Regions from separate parts of the Homo sapiens genome. Here all the other regions are linked to region 1. The links are contacts of gene promoters, found by promoter capture Hi-C in blood cells and fetal thymus (Javierre and others, 2016). All regions are on one chromosome and are shown on one strand. The core of a region is centred on a gene start or on the middle of the fragment in contact, and the rest is flanking DNA. Distances in the headings are between cores, read along the strand shown. Region 1 holds the start of RESF1 (retroelement silencing factor 1). Region 2 has its middle 40 kb from the start of LINC02422. Region 3 has its middle 65 kb from the start of BICD1.

Region 1 (3,883 bases), core at 761-3,260:
GAGCCCAAGCTAAGCCATCATATCCCCTGTGACCTGCACGTATACATCCAGATGGCCTGAAGCAACTGAAGATCCACAAAAGAAGCGAAAATAGCCTTAACTGATGACATTCCACCATTGTGATTTGTTTCTGCCCCATCCTAACAGATCAATGTATTTTGTAATCTCCCCCACCCTTAAGAAGGTTCTTTGTAATTCTCCCCACCCTTAAGAAGGTTCTTTGTAATCTCCCCCACCCTTAAGAAGGTTCTTTGTAATTCTCCCCACCCTTGAGAATGTACTTTGTGAGATCCACCCCCTGCCCGCAAAACATTGTTCCGCGGAGCCTCTCCCAAAACCTATAAGAATTAAAGATAATCCCACCACCCTTTGCTGACTCTCTTTTCGGACTCAGCCCGCCTGCACCCAGGTGAAATAAACAGTCTTGTTGCTCACGCAAAGCTTGTTTGGTGGTCTCTTCACACGGATGCGCGTGACACAAAGTGCTGGGGTTACAGGCCTGAGCCACCACACCTGGCCACCCCCAATCTTTAAGAATATTCTGGCCGGGCGCGGTGGCTCATGCCTGTAATCCCAGCACTTTGGGAGGCTAAGGCGGGCGGATCAAGAGGTCAGGAGATCGAGACCATCCTGGCTAACATGGTGAAACCCCGTCTCTACTAAAATACAAAAAATTAGCCGGGCATGGTGGCGGGCGCCTGTAGTCCCAGCTACTTGGGAGGCTGAGGCAGCAGAATGGCGTGAACCTGGGAGGCGGAGCTTGCAGTGAGCCGAGATCGTGCCACTGCACTCCAGCCTGGGCGACAGAGCGTGACTCCGTCCCCCCCCCAAAAAAGAAAGAATATTCTGTATGTAGTTTTTTTGTTTTGTTTCTGACAGACGCAAACGCACTCTTCTAGTAATGACTAAAGACTTCTTCGTTTAATTCACCAATGAACTAATCTGACAATTTATGTAACAAATAAATTCCTATAAACATAAGCTCCCTTGCCCCTCTCCAGTGGCACAATCTCTGATTTGCCATCCTGGTTGCAACCTTCATTACTAAGTAAACGCTTACGTAAACCTTAATAATGAGATTCGGGCAATATGATTAAATATTGGTTTATTTGAGTGCAAAGTTTGAGGATGGCGACCCGGTAGGACACAGACTCCAAAAGATGGGGGTCAGTGCTTCGAAAGGGAGAAGTTTGAGGGTCGTTTACACAGGCAGGGTCTGGGAAGCTTAACAGGATGTCAACATTTTCCATAGAAGGTTAACGCATAGCAATTTGATTGGTTCAAGGCAGTGTTTCTTTTTGGGAAGGGTCTATTTAACATTCCACATTAAGGATGTAATAGTCAAGCGGTCATTTATCTTATTCAATGCGTATTTTATCTCAGATGCCATCTGGTCTGAGCTGGGAACAAGAAAATAAGGGAGTTAATCTATAACAAAAGGTCGGCAATTAAGAGGTCGTGCTTCGTGATCTGGTCTCCAAAGTCAACTTTCCTCAGGGACTTTCAGAATCCCCAAATAGACTATCCACTTTCTTTCACACTTATTTGCCTCTAACTTGTTGATTTCTTTTTTTTTTTTCTGTTTTTTAAGGGTTAACAATCTCTTGGGTGCACTCTGACTTCCATGCGCTTTATAGAAAAAATTGGTCCTGAGGCCAGCAGCAACAGTCGGTCTCAGGAACTTGTTAGAAATGCACATTTTTCAGCCCCACCCCAAACCTACTGAATCAGCAGTTTTGCTGGTGGTTCTCAATCTCTCTTTAACGTGCCCTCTGGGTGCTGCGGATGCACGCTGAAGGTAGAAGATCGCTGCAGGAGATTTCCGCGTCGGGCAGATGAAAGCGCTCTGCAAGCCCGGGTGTTATCTGCGGGCCGGGTCCGCGGCTTCTCTGGTGGCACTAGGACCGCGGCGGCGCGGCCCTCGCAGCCACCGCCTCGGGCGTGAGGCGGAGCGTAGCTGTTCCTGGATCCTGGGCCTGGCTCCTCGACCCGCCCCTGGAGGCGGACCCCACTTGACTTAAACTCTGGGGCCCGGGAGGCCGCCGGTTTTCTCCCCGCTTGCCGGGGTGGTCCTCTTCCCTTTGTCGGTAAGTGTGAGACGAGCACCCCGAGGTCCCTCCGCCTTCCGGGGTCCGGGCGGGGCGGGGGCCGGGAGCCGGGAGCCAGAGGCACTCGCGGTCCGGGCCTGCGCGCGGCGCAGAGCGCTTTTGTTCTGCGGCAAAGACGCAGTCGCGGGCGGCCCCGGAACCCGGGCCTCGGGCCCCGCCGGCTCGCGCGTCCCGCCGTCCGCCCACCGGAGCTGGGCCGGGCCGCCGCGCTTGCTTCTGCCCGCCGCACCGGGGCCGGCCCTGGGCCTCCGCGGATGCCGAGCCTTGCACCGGAGGGCGGGCCTCGCTGGCTGTTTTCCCTCATTGCCTGGCTCTGCGCGGTAGAGGTCGCGAGTGGCGAAGGCTAGGACGCATTTTGTCGAACTGCGAGGCGCGGCTGGTGAGGCGGGTGGGTATGAGAGCTGCTTATGTTTTTAAGGCTTTCCTGTCGCTGGAGTGAAAAAGAAAAATCTTTTTTTTTTTTTGCTATTTCCCGAGGGTTCTCCTCCTCCCCGGCCCTCTTAAGCCGAAGCCTCCTGGAACAGAATTGCTGTACTGGCATCTATCTCCAAGTGGTCCGCGAACGCTTCTGCGCCGGCGATGGTTTCTGTTCCTCAGCAATAGTTCCTTGAGGCATTTTTAAATGCACAAACGCATACCCATCTTAGGTGTTCTCGAGGGACACGGATTCCCTAAGCAAACGTCCTTAGGGTCCTGAGTTCAGCAGCAAACTTTCGGGGAATCATTTCCGTGAAAACAATTTATTTGTAGTACATCGAGTGCATACTGTCTTAACATAAGGATGTGTATGAGCTTGAGGCGCATTTTCATTTAGTGGCGGGCGGGTGCATTTCAGTAGGCGGGCCGCAGAGCTTGTTTGGGGATTGCATTTTTCTGCTAAATGTGTTAGCTTTAATCATGTTTCAGTCACTGTTAATGTGCATGCATGTTAAGGTTTTAGGTTTTTTCCCCTGTGCAGTCGGATTTTTTTCTGTTTAATATTAATCCAATAAAGACAAGTGCAGAGATAAAGTATTATTGTTTTGCAGTGATACTACAATAGCGGACCTAGAGGAGCGCACATAAATTCTAACTTAAGTGAATGGTATTTTCAGGCCAGACCTAGTTTCTATTTCTGTTACTTAGGACACTTAATAAGAATTCAGTAAACTTAGCATGCTTTCAGTGCAGCCATAAAAGAAAACAGTTTTGCACAGCAGTGTCATATCTAGTAAACACATTAGCATGTGCTCTTTTATTATAAAATGTTTCTTGCTGTCCCTAGGACCAAAGAAGTAAACACTGTGTGGAGAGGGACTGACGTGTTTGGAGGGAAATGGGAATGTACACGATAATTAAAGAGTAAAGTTGTGCTCAACGGTAAGTGTATCACCTCTAAGAAACCCGCCCTGATTTAACCAGGCGGTTATTCACACTCAACTATGGAGTAATTCACCTATTACCGAATAAAATTACTAGCTCAGTGAATCAACATCGGTTTTAAATTAAACTGTGGGTCACAATGGAATTGACAGCAAAGCTTGAGAAGAAATGTTGTTGGCATAGTACTGAAAAATCAGTTGTTAATCTTAGCAAAATAAGGAAAGAGGTCTTTGGTAAGGGAATTGTGGTGGAAGTTACCTGGGCAGAGGTCTGCTTCTGTCTGTGCTGTGTTTATTTGATTGTTTTTATTATATTTTATTACTGTTGGTGGCACATAGGGGAATGTGGCGCAGAGCACCACTCTGGGAGGATGCTTCCCGTGCAGCCAAAGTGATCATGTCCAGGGCTTTCAT
Region 2 (3,883 bases), core at 747-3,246, 110 kb before region 1:
AAACATTATGTGGGCAGGGACCATGCTTTATTTTTTAATTGAGGACGTATATTTTATGTCTTATGTCACCGAGTGGAAATACAGCAAACTACCTGGCCTCTCAGATTTCTGCCTTCAGTTCCATAAATCCTCTTAAACTAAGAGAGTCACCCGGTCACTTTCGGATGGGACAGATACCTCAGTTTATTCACATTTTTCCTGACTTTTCTTAATTCCTTCTTGTGAAGTCAGAAACTGAAAAGTCTGAGATTTTCTGCTACTTGCAAGCTAACAAGTTACCGTGCCACAATTTTTTTTTTTTTTTTTTAGACAGAGTCTCACTCTGTCGCCCAGGCTGGAGTGCAATGCAGTGATCTCGGCTCACTGCAACCTCCACCTCCTGGGTTCAAGGAATTCTCCTGCCTCAGCCTCCAGAGAAGCTGGGATTACAGGCGTCTGCCACCATGCCCGACTAATTTTCTGTATTTTTAGTAGAGATGAGGTTTCACCATGCTGGCCAGGCTGGTCTCGAACTCTTGACCTCAGGTGATCCAGCCACCTCGGCCTTCCAAAGTGCTGGAATTACAGACATGAGCCACCACGCCTGGCCCACAAATTTTTATATACATCGTGTTAGAAAACAGGAGATCTCTGAGTCAGAGACAAAGACGTGTATTCACAGTAAAAGCAGCAGCCAAGGTGACTTCAGAGCTTGGGTTCCCTGAGCCCCAATTCCCATAAGGCAACATAGGGAGGGCCAGATGGTACTTACAGGTGCTTTCAGGTGCAATACAGGAGGCGAAGTCTGAGTTTAGGAGGCTCACATTTTGCATAGGGCTGCAGGAAAATCTGCCCATCCTCCCTTCCAGAGAGAAACATTCTACACTGGAATGTGAGCAAATATTTCTGGGGAAAGATGTCTGTAAATCTCTCGGTGAAAGTTACCGTTTTGATCTTTATTTATCTAGGAATGTAAATACATTTGCTTCAGGGGAAGTCCTTGTCTTTATCTCTCCAGGGCTGCCTGCTTGCACTAGGCATTCCTAGAAAGATAATCCTGGCACACAGGAGCGAAACATGTAGGAGTGCTGAAGATTCACAGACAGTCGTCTCAATGTCTCTGAAGTTTTTTTTCCCTTAAACTTCTCCTTTTGGACATTCCCCTTCATTTTCCTTTTAAAAATCTCATCCTTTCCAACACTTTCAGTTGTAAGAATTTCCAAATCAAGCACTCAATATCAAAACAATGTGTGTGACAAACTTAAAGTGTTGAATCTGACTATGTCAGCAGAAAGCATAATTATCGATGATGTATGGGACAGCAATCTTGAATTAAAGAAGAAGGTGGGAAAGCCCCAAATCTCTCATAAATTATGATGATGATGATGATGATGATGATGATGATTTAGCACACCTCTGCTGGCAGGAAACAATTTATTTTAAAGATGACCTGTTACATTAGGTATTTGTATTGAATGTTACCTTATGTGTTGAAAAGGGAGTGAAGAGAGAATATATATGTAATTTCTTGTGTATGGATAACATCGATGTAAGTACAACCAAAATACCAATGTAAGATCTGTACACCAACCTAATAACATGAGCATGATTGATAGGTTGATCAGTAGTTTGGCTTATTGTTCAATGAATATCCACTCCCCTCTCCCTTCTACTGTGGGAAGATTATACTTCTTGGGCCTGGCCCTGTGACTTGCTCTGGCAAATGTACTACTAATGGAAAGACAGGAGAGAGACCTTGAATATGTTTGACTTGGCTCTTGGTTTGACATAGCTCTCCTAGTCCTGCCATTGTTCATAAGAACAACATGTCCCACCAGCACTGCTTCTTCAGCCTGGGTCCCAGAATAAGACTCAGGAAACAGATATGAGCACAACCTGAACCCCAGAGCCTAGGCATCTGAGTGTCAGTCTGAGGCACAATTATCAGCTGACCTGCAGATCTGCCAGTAAGATAAATAAATTCTTGGCCAGGCATGGTGGCTCATGCCTGTAATCCTAGCACTTTGGGAGGTTGAGGCAGGTGGATCACCTGAGGTCAGGAATTCGAGACCAGCCTGACAAACATGGAAAAACTCCATCTCTGCTAAAAATACAAAATTAGCCAGGCGGGTGGTGCATGCCTGTAATCCCAGCTACTCGGGAGGCTGAGGCAGGGGAATCGCTTGAACCCAGGAGGAAGAAGTTGTGGTGAGCTGAGATGGCACCATTGCATTCCAGCCTGGGCAACAAGAGTGAAACTCCATCTCAAAATAAAAGAAAAATAAATTCTTAAATTACCTGGGCATGTTGGTGCATGCTATAATCCCAGCTACTCGGGAGGCAGAGGCTGAAGTGAGCTGAGATCACGCCACTGCACTCCAGCCTGGGCAACAGAGCAAGACTCCTAAAAAAAAAAAAAAAAAGGAATTCTTGTTGTAAGCCATTTGGTTTTGGTATGTATGTGTTTTGTTGTTGTTGTTATTGTTTTGTTTTGTTTTTTTTTTTGAGACGGAGTCTTGCTCTGTCACCCAGGCTGGAGTGCAGTGGCGCAATCTCGGCTCACTGCAAGCTCTAACTCCTGGGTTCACACCATTCTCCTGCCTCAGCCTCCAGAGTAGCTGGGACTACAGGCGCCCACCACCATGCCTGGCTAATTTTTGTATTTTTAGTAGTGACGGGTTTCACCATGTTAGCCAGGATGGTCTCGATCTCCTGACCTCATGATCCGCCTGCTTTGGCCTCCCAAAGTGCGGGATTACAGGCATGAGCCACCGTGCCCGGCCCTAAAAAGGGGAGGCATGAATAATCCACCCCTTGTTTAGCATATCGTCAAGAAATAACCATAAAAATGGGCAACCAGCAGCCGGCTGCTCTGTCTATGGAGTATTCTTTTATTCCTTTACTTTCTTAATAAACTTGCTTTAACTTTATTCTATGAATGTGCCCTGAATTCTTTCTTGTGCAAGATCTAAGAACACTCTCTTGGGGTCTGGATTGGAACCCCTTTCCAGTAACATCTTTCTGACGACCCAGAGGGGACTATAGTGTGGAAACTCCCAACTCAAAGGCTAACTTTGGTTAAGTGTTGGGGTCTGATAACATCTTTCTCATGAACCACAAGTGGGACAATACTGAAAATACTTCTCAACCCAAAGGAAACAGACTGCAGCACTAATTGGCCAACTTTGGGTAATTGGGGTACCCAAGTAAAGGATGGGATTGGGTTAGAGGTGCAACTTAGGGGAGTTAGAGTCTCTCCTGAAACAGAGTGGGTTAGAGACTCATCTTAATAAAAGGCAAGAACGCTTAACCAACCTTGGGTTAGAGGCCCAAATTAGAAGAGTTATCCCTTCTAAGATTTAGGGAGTTAGAGGCCTCTCTCAGTAAAGTCCTTCTTGGCTAAGAATGGGTTTGACACTATTAACTGCTATTCTCTTTCAAATAATCTGCCTTGCACTCTTTGCTGACAGCTATGGGTGACAGGATTAGGCATGAACAGGATCGTGGGACATGGGGAGCTTTTTCTTCCCTAAAAGGGGAAACTTGAGAGCTGATGGGACTGCTGAAAAATATCCCTTCACAGCTGACAAGCGGCCACCTGAACTTTTGATTCAGTGTTGCTGGAATGGGTGGGTCTTTCTCTCAACTCCCTGAGATCTTCACCTTCCCCATCCTGCCACAGGCAAGGCTTTTCTCTCTCTCCTTTCCCTTTCTTATTTTTTCTATTACTCAGGGTAACCATCTTTCCCAGAGATCACAAGTCAAAACTCTCTGGTCAGAGGTTGGATTAATGATGATGGGGCCCAACAGGGGGCAAGTTTGAGCCTTGCCAGTTTGATATTGGGTGCTAAGCAGAGTGGCAGGTCATAAACTGCTTCTTTGACTTTTACAAATTGTTCAATTT
Region 3 (3,883 bases), core at 573-3,072, 83 kb after region 1:
GGAACTATTTCTTTGAAATGCAATCAGCAGGACATAGCATCCTTATCTCTGTTTCTGTGGGAGGGCAGCAGGAGCCTGACTCCAAATTGCCTTGCTCCAAGTTTCAAGATATCGTGCTCTAAGTTACAAAACTAACTCTTGTCACAAAGCTAGGATACGTTTATTTCTCCTTTTTGTTGATTTTTGAACAATTAGAATTTATTTCTCACAGTTCTGAAGGCTGCGTGTCTGAGAGCAGGGTCCCAGCACAGCCAAGTTCTGGTGAGGACCCTCTTCCAGTGGCAGATGCCCACTTCTGGTGCTATCTCCCATGGAGGACAGCAGAGGCTATAATTCCTTTGGAGAAAGCCTACTAGCAAATACACAATGGAATTTTATTTAGCCTTTCAAAAAAAGGAATTTCTGCCATTTGCGACAACATAGATGAACCTGGAGAACTATGCTAAATGAAAAAAAGCCAGGCAGGGAAGGACACATACTGCAGGATCTCACATGTATGTGGAATCTAAAACAATCAAGCTCATAGAAGTAGAGAATAAAATGGTGGTTACCAGGGGCTGGGAGCGAGGAAATGGGGAAATGTTGGTCAATGGGTACAACATTTCAGTTAGACAGGAGGAATATTTTTTTGAGATCTATTGCACAGTATGAGAACTATAGTTAATAATAATGTACTGTATATTCCAAAAATGCTAAGTGAATACATTTCAAATGCTCTTCCTACCAAAAAAATGATGAGTATTGGCTGGGCATGGTGGCTCACACCTGTTATCCCAGAGTTTTGGGATGCCAAGGCAGGCAGATCACTTGAGGCCAGGAGTTCAAGGCCAGCCTAGGCAACATAGTGAAACCCTGTCTCTATAGAAAATTAAAAAAATTAGACAGACGTGATGGTGTGTGCCTGTAGTCTTAGCTACTCAGGAGGCTGAGGTGGGAGGATGGCTTGAGCCCAGGAGTTCAAAGTTACAGTAAGCTATAATGGTGCCACTGCACTCCAATCTGGGCAACAGAGTGAAAACTTGTCTCTCTAAAAAAATAAAAAAAAAAAAAGATGAGTATTGAGGTAATGGGTATGTTAATTAGCTTGATTTAATAATTTCACATTGTTTACATATATTACAACATCACTCCGTACCCCATAAAGACATCAAATTATAAAAAGCCAACGGCAAACACAAATGGCCTGTGACTTCCCTTATGTCCTTCAGTACTAATTCACCCAATCCTTTAAAACCTATCCCTTCTGGGCCGGGTGCGGTGGCTCATGCCTGCAATCCCAGCACTTTGGGAGGCAGAGGCAGGCAGATCACGAGGTCAGGAGATCGACGTCAACCTGGCTAACACAGTGAAACCCCGTCTCTACTAAAAATACAAAAAATTAGCTGGGCGTGGTGGTGGGCACCTGTAGTCCCAGCTACTCTGGAGGCAGAGGCAGGAGAATCACTTGAACCCGGGAGGCAGAGGTTGCACTGAGCCGAGATCCCGCCACTGCACTCCACCTGGGCGACAGAGAGAGACTCCGCCTCAAAAACAAACAAACAAACAAACAAACAAACAAAACCTATCCCTTCTGATGAGCAGTTTAGTTCATACTTAGTTCTGGCCCTCTCCCCTCCTGCAGTTTAACTTTGCCTAAAGTTTCAACGTTGTTCAGTGCAATTTTTCCTTTGACACCACCAGTGGTCCTGTGTTGCACCCCTTTTGTTTTGTTTCATTTTGTTTTTTTGTCTTTTGGTTTATTTGGTAGAGACAGGGTCTTGCTTTGTTGTCCAGGCTGGCCTTGAACTCCTGGCTTCAAGGGCTCCTCCTGCCTCGGCCTCCCATGGTGCTAGGATTATAGGTATGAGCCACAGCACCTGGCCTATTGCACCCCTTTTGTTGTTGTTTGTTGTTTTTTGGTTTTGAGACAGTGTCTTGTTCTGTTGCCCAGGCTGGAGCACAGTGGCATGATCGTGGCTCACTGCAGCCACTACCTCCTGGCTCAATCGATCCTCCAGCTTTAGCCTCCTGAGTAGCTGGGACTACAGAAGTGTACCACCATGCCTGGCTAGATTTTTGAATTCTTTGTAGAGACAGAGTTTCACCTTGTTTCCTAGGTTGGTCTTGAACTCTTGAGCTGAAGCCATCCAACTGCCTCGGCCTCCCAAAGCGCTGGGATTACAGGCGTGAGCCACCGCACCAAGCCTGTTTCGTGTTTTGTTTTTTAAGACAGGGTCTTACTATGTCACCCAGGCTTGAGGGCAGTGGCGTGATCATGGCTTACTGCAGCTTTGACCTCCCAGGCTCCAGTGATCCTCCCACCTCAGCCTTCTGAGTAGCTGGACTACACACGTGCTCCACCACACCCAGCTAATTTTTGTTCTTTTTTTTTTGAGACAGAGTCTCGCCCTGTCACCCAGGCTGGAGTGCAGTGGTGCAATCTCAGCTCACTGCAACCTCTGCCTCCTGGGCTCAAGCGATTCTCTTACCTCAGCCTCCAGAGTAGCTGGGACTACAAGCTCAGGCCACCACACCCAACTAATTATTTTTATTTTTATTTTTATTTTTTGAGACAGAGTCTCACTCTGTCACCCAGGCTGGAGTGCAGTGGCAACCTCCTCCTCCTGGGTTCAAGCAATTCTCCTGCCTCAGCCTCCTGAGTAACAGGGAATACAGGTGCCCACCACCACGCCTGGCTAATTTTGTATTTTTAGTACAGATGGGGTTTTACCGTGTTGGTCAGGCTGGTCTTGAACTTCTGACCTCAGGTGATCCACCTACCTCAACCTCCCAAAATTCTGGGATTATAGGCGTGAGCCACCACTCCTGGCCAATTTTTTGTATTTTTAGTAAAGATGGGGTTTCACCATGTTGGCCAGGCTGGTCGTGAACTCCTGATCTCAGGTAATCCACCCACCTTGGCCTCCCAAAGTGCTGGGATTACAGGCATGAGCCACTGCACCCAGCCTTAATTTTTGTATTTTTTGTATAGACAGGGTCTCACTATGTTGCTCAGGCTTATTTCAAACACCTGGGTTCAAGTGATCCTCTGGCCTCAGCCTCCCAAAATGCTGGGATTATAGGCGTGAGCCACTGTGCCCAGCCCCTTTTGTTGATCGCGCCACAATTTTCCAAAACGTTCATAGGGACTCTATATTAGCTTTCTAGAGCTGCCATAACAAAGCACCACAAACTGGGTGGGTTAAAAAAACAGAAAATGTATTATCTTACAGTTCTGGAAGTCAGAGGTCCAAAATCAAGGTCTTGGCAGGGCCATGCTCCTTCTGAAGGCTCCAGGGAAGAAATCTGTTCCATGCCTTACTTTTAGCTTCTGGTGTTGCCAGTAAATGCTTGTTGATACAGCACTTTAATCACTGTCTCCATTGCCTCATAGCATTCTTCCTGGGTCTGTCTCCGTGTCTCTTCTCTGCTTCTCATAAGGACAGCAGTCATATTGGATTGAGTCCATACTACTTAATATAGTTTGAATATTTGTCCCCTCCAAATCTCAAATTGAAATGTGACCCCCAGTGTTGGAAGTGGGGCCTAGTAGGAGATGTTTGGGTCATGGGGACAGATCCCTCATGAATGGCTTGATGCCCTCCTTACAGTAATGAATGAGTTCTTGCTCTATTAGTTAATGTGCAATCTGATTGTTAAAATCTCTCGCCATGTGACACACTGGCTCTCCTTGCCTTCCACCATGATTGGAAGCTTCCTGAGGCTTCCCCAGAAACAGACACTGGCACCTTGTTCTGTTAGAAATAAAAGCTCAGAGTCGTAAAGAAAATGAGCACTCAAACACAAGATTTCTCAGCAAGGCAAATTTTCTTCTGCAGAAGGGTGCAGCTTGCGCCAGTCATTATCGCAAGAGCACACCGAGCAGGGTAGGAAAGGGGTTTTT

The links. Contacts are between HindIII fragments. The CHiCAGO score rates a contact against its expected background, and 5 or more counts as called.
Region 2: a fragment that was not itself captured here is called in contact with the fragment with the promoter of RESF1 in region 1 in 4 of 17 cell types (neutrophils, non-activated CD4 T cells, total CD8 T cells and 1 more); the score reaches 10.9 in neutrophils.
Region 3: a fragment that was not itself captured here is called in contact with the fragment with the promoter of RESF1 in region 1 in 2 of 17 cell types (erythroblasts and naive CD4 T cells); the score reaches 7.7 in erythroblasts.

The regions. Positions count from the first base shown.
Region 1 is chr12:31,957,405-31,961,287 of GRCh38, forward strand. It overlaps RESF1 (retroelement silencing factor 1), which reads left to right and starts at 2,011. Exons shown (of 6, transcript NM_018169.4): 1 at 2,011-2,087; 2 at 3,373-3,467. LOC105369725 (a long non-coding RNA gene) reads right to left here and starts at 1,900. Exons shown (of 2, transcript XR_931503.2): 1 at 1,724-1,900; 2 at 1,089-1,400. RefSeq lists enhancers at 1-132, 136-929 and a silencer at 1,982-2,321. The HindIII fragment of the contact is 2,403 bases long and covers 1,223-3,625 here.
Region 2 is chr12:31,844,859-31,848,741 of GRCh38, forward strand. No RefSeq gene overlaps it. Among named protein-coding and RNA genes, the nearest start is that of LINC02422, 40 kb to the right of the region's middle. The HindIII fragment of the contact is 8,229 bases long and covers 1-3,883 here.
Region 3 is chr12:32,040,311-32,044,193 of GRCh38, forward strand. No RefSeq gene overlaps it. Among named protein-coding and RNA genes, the nearest start is that of BICD1, 65 kb to the right of the region's middle. RefSeq lists a silencer at 3,552-3,752. The HindIII fragment of the contact is 3,737 bases long and covers 1-3,691 here.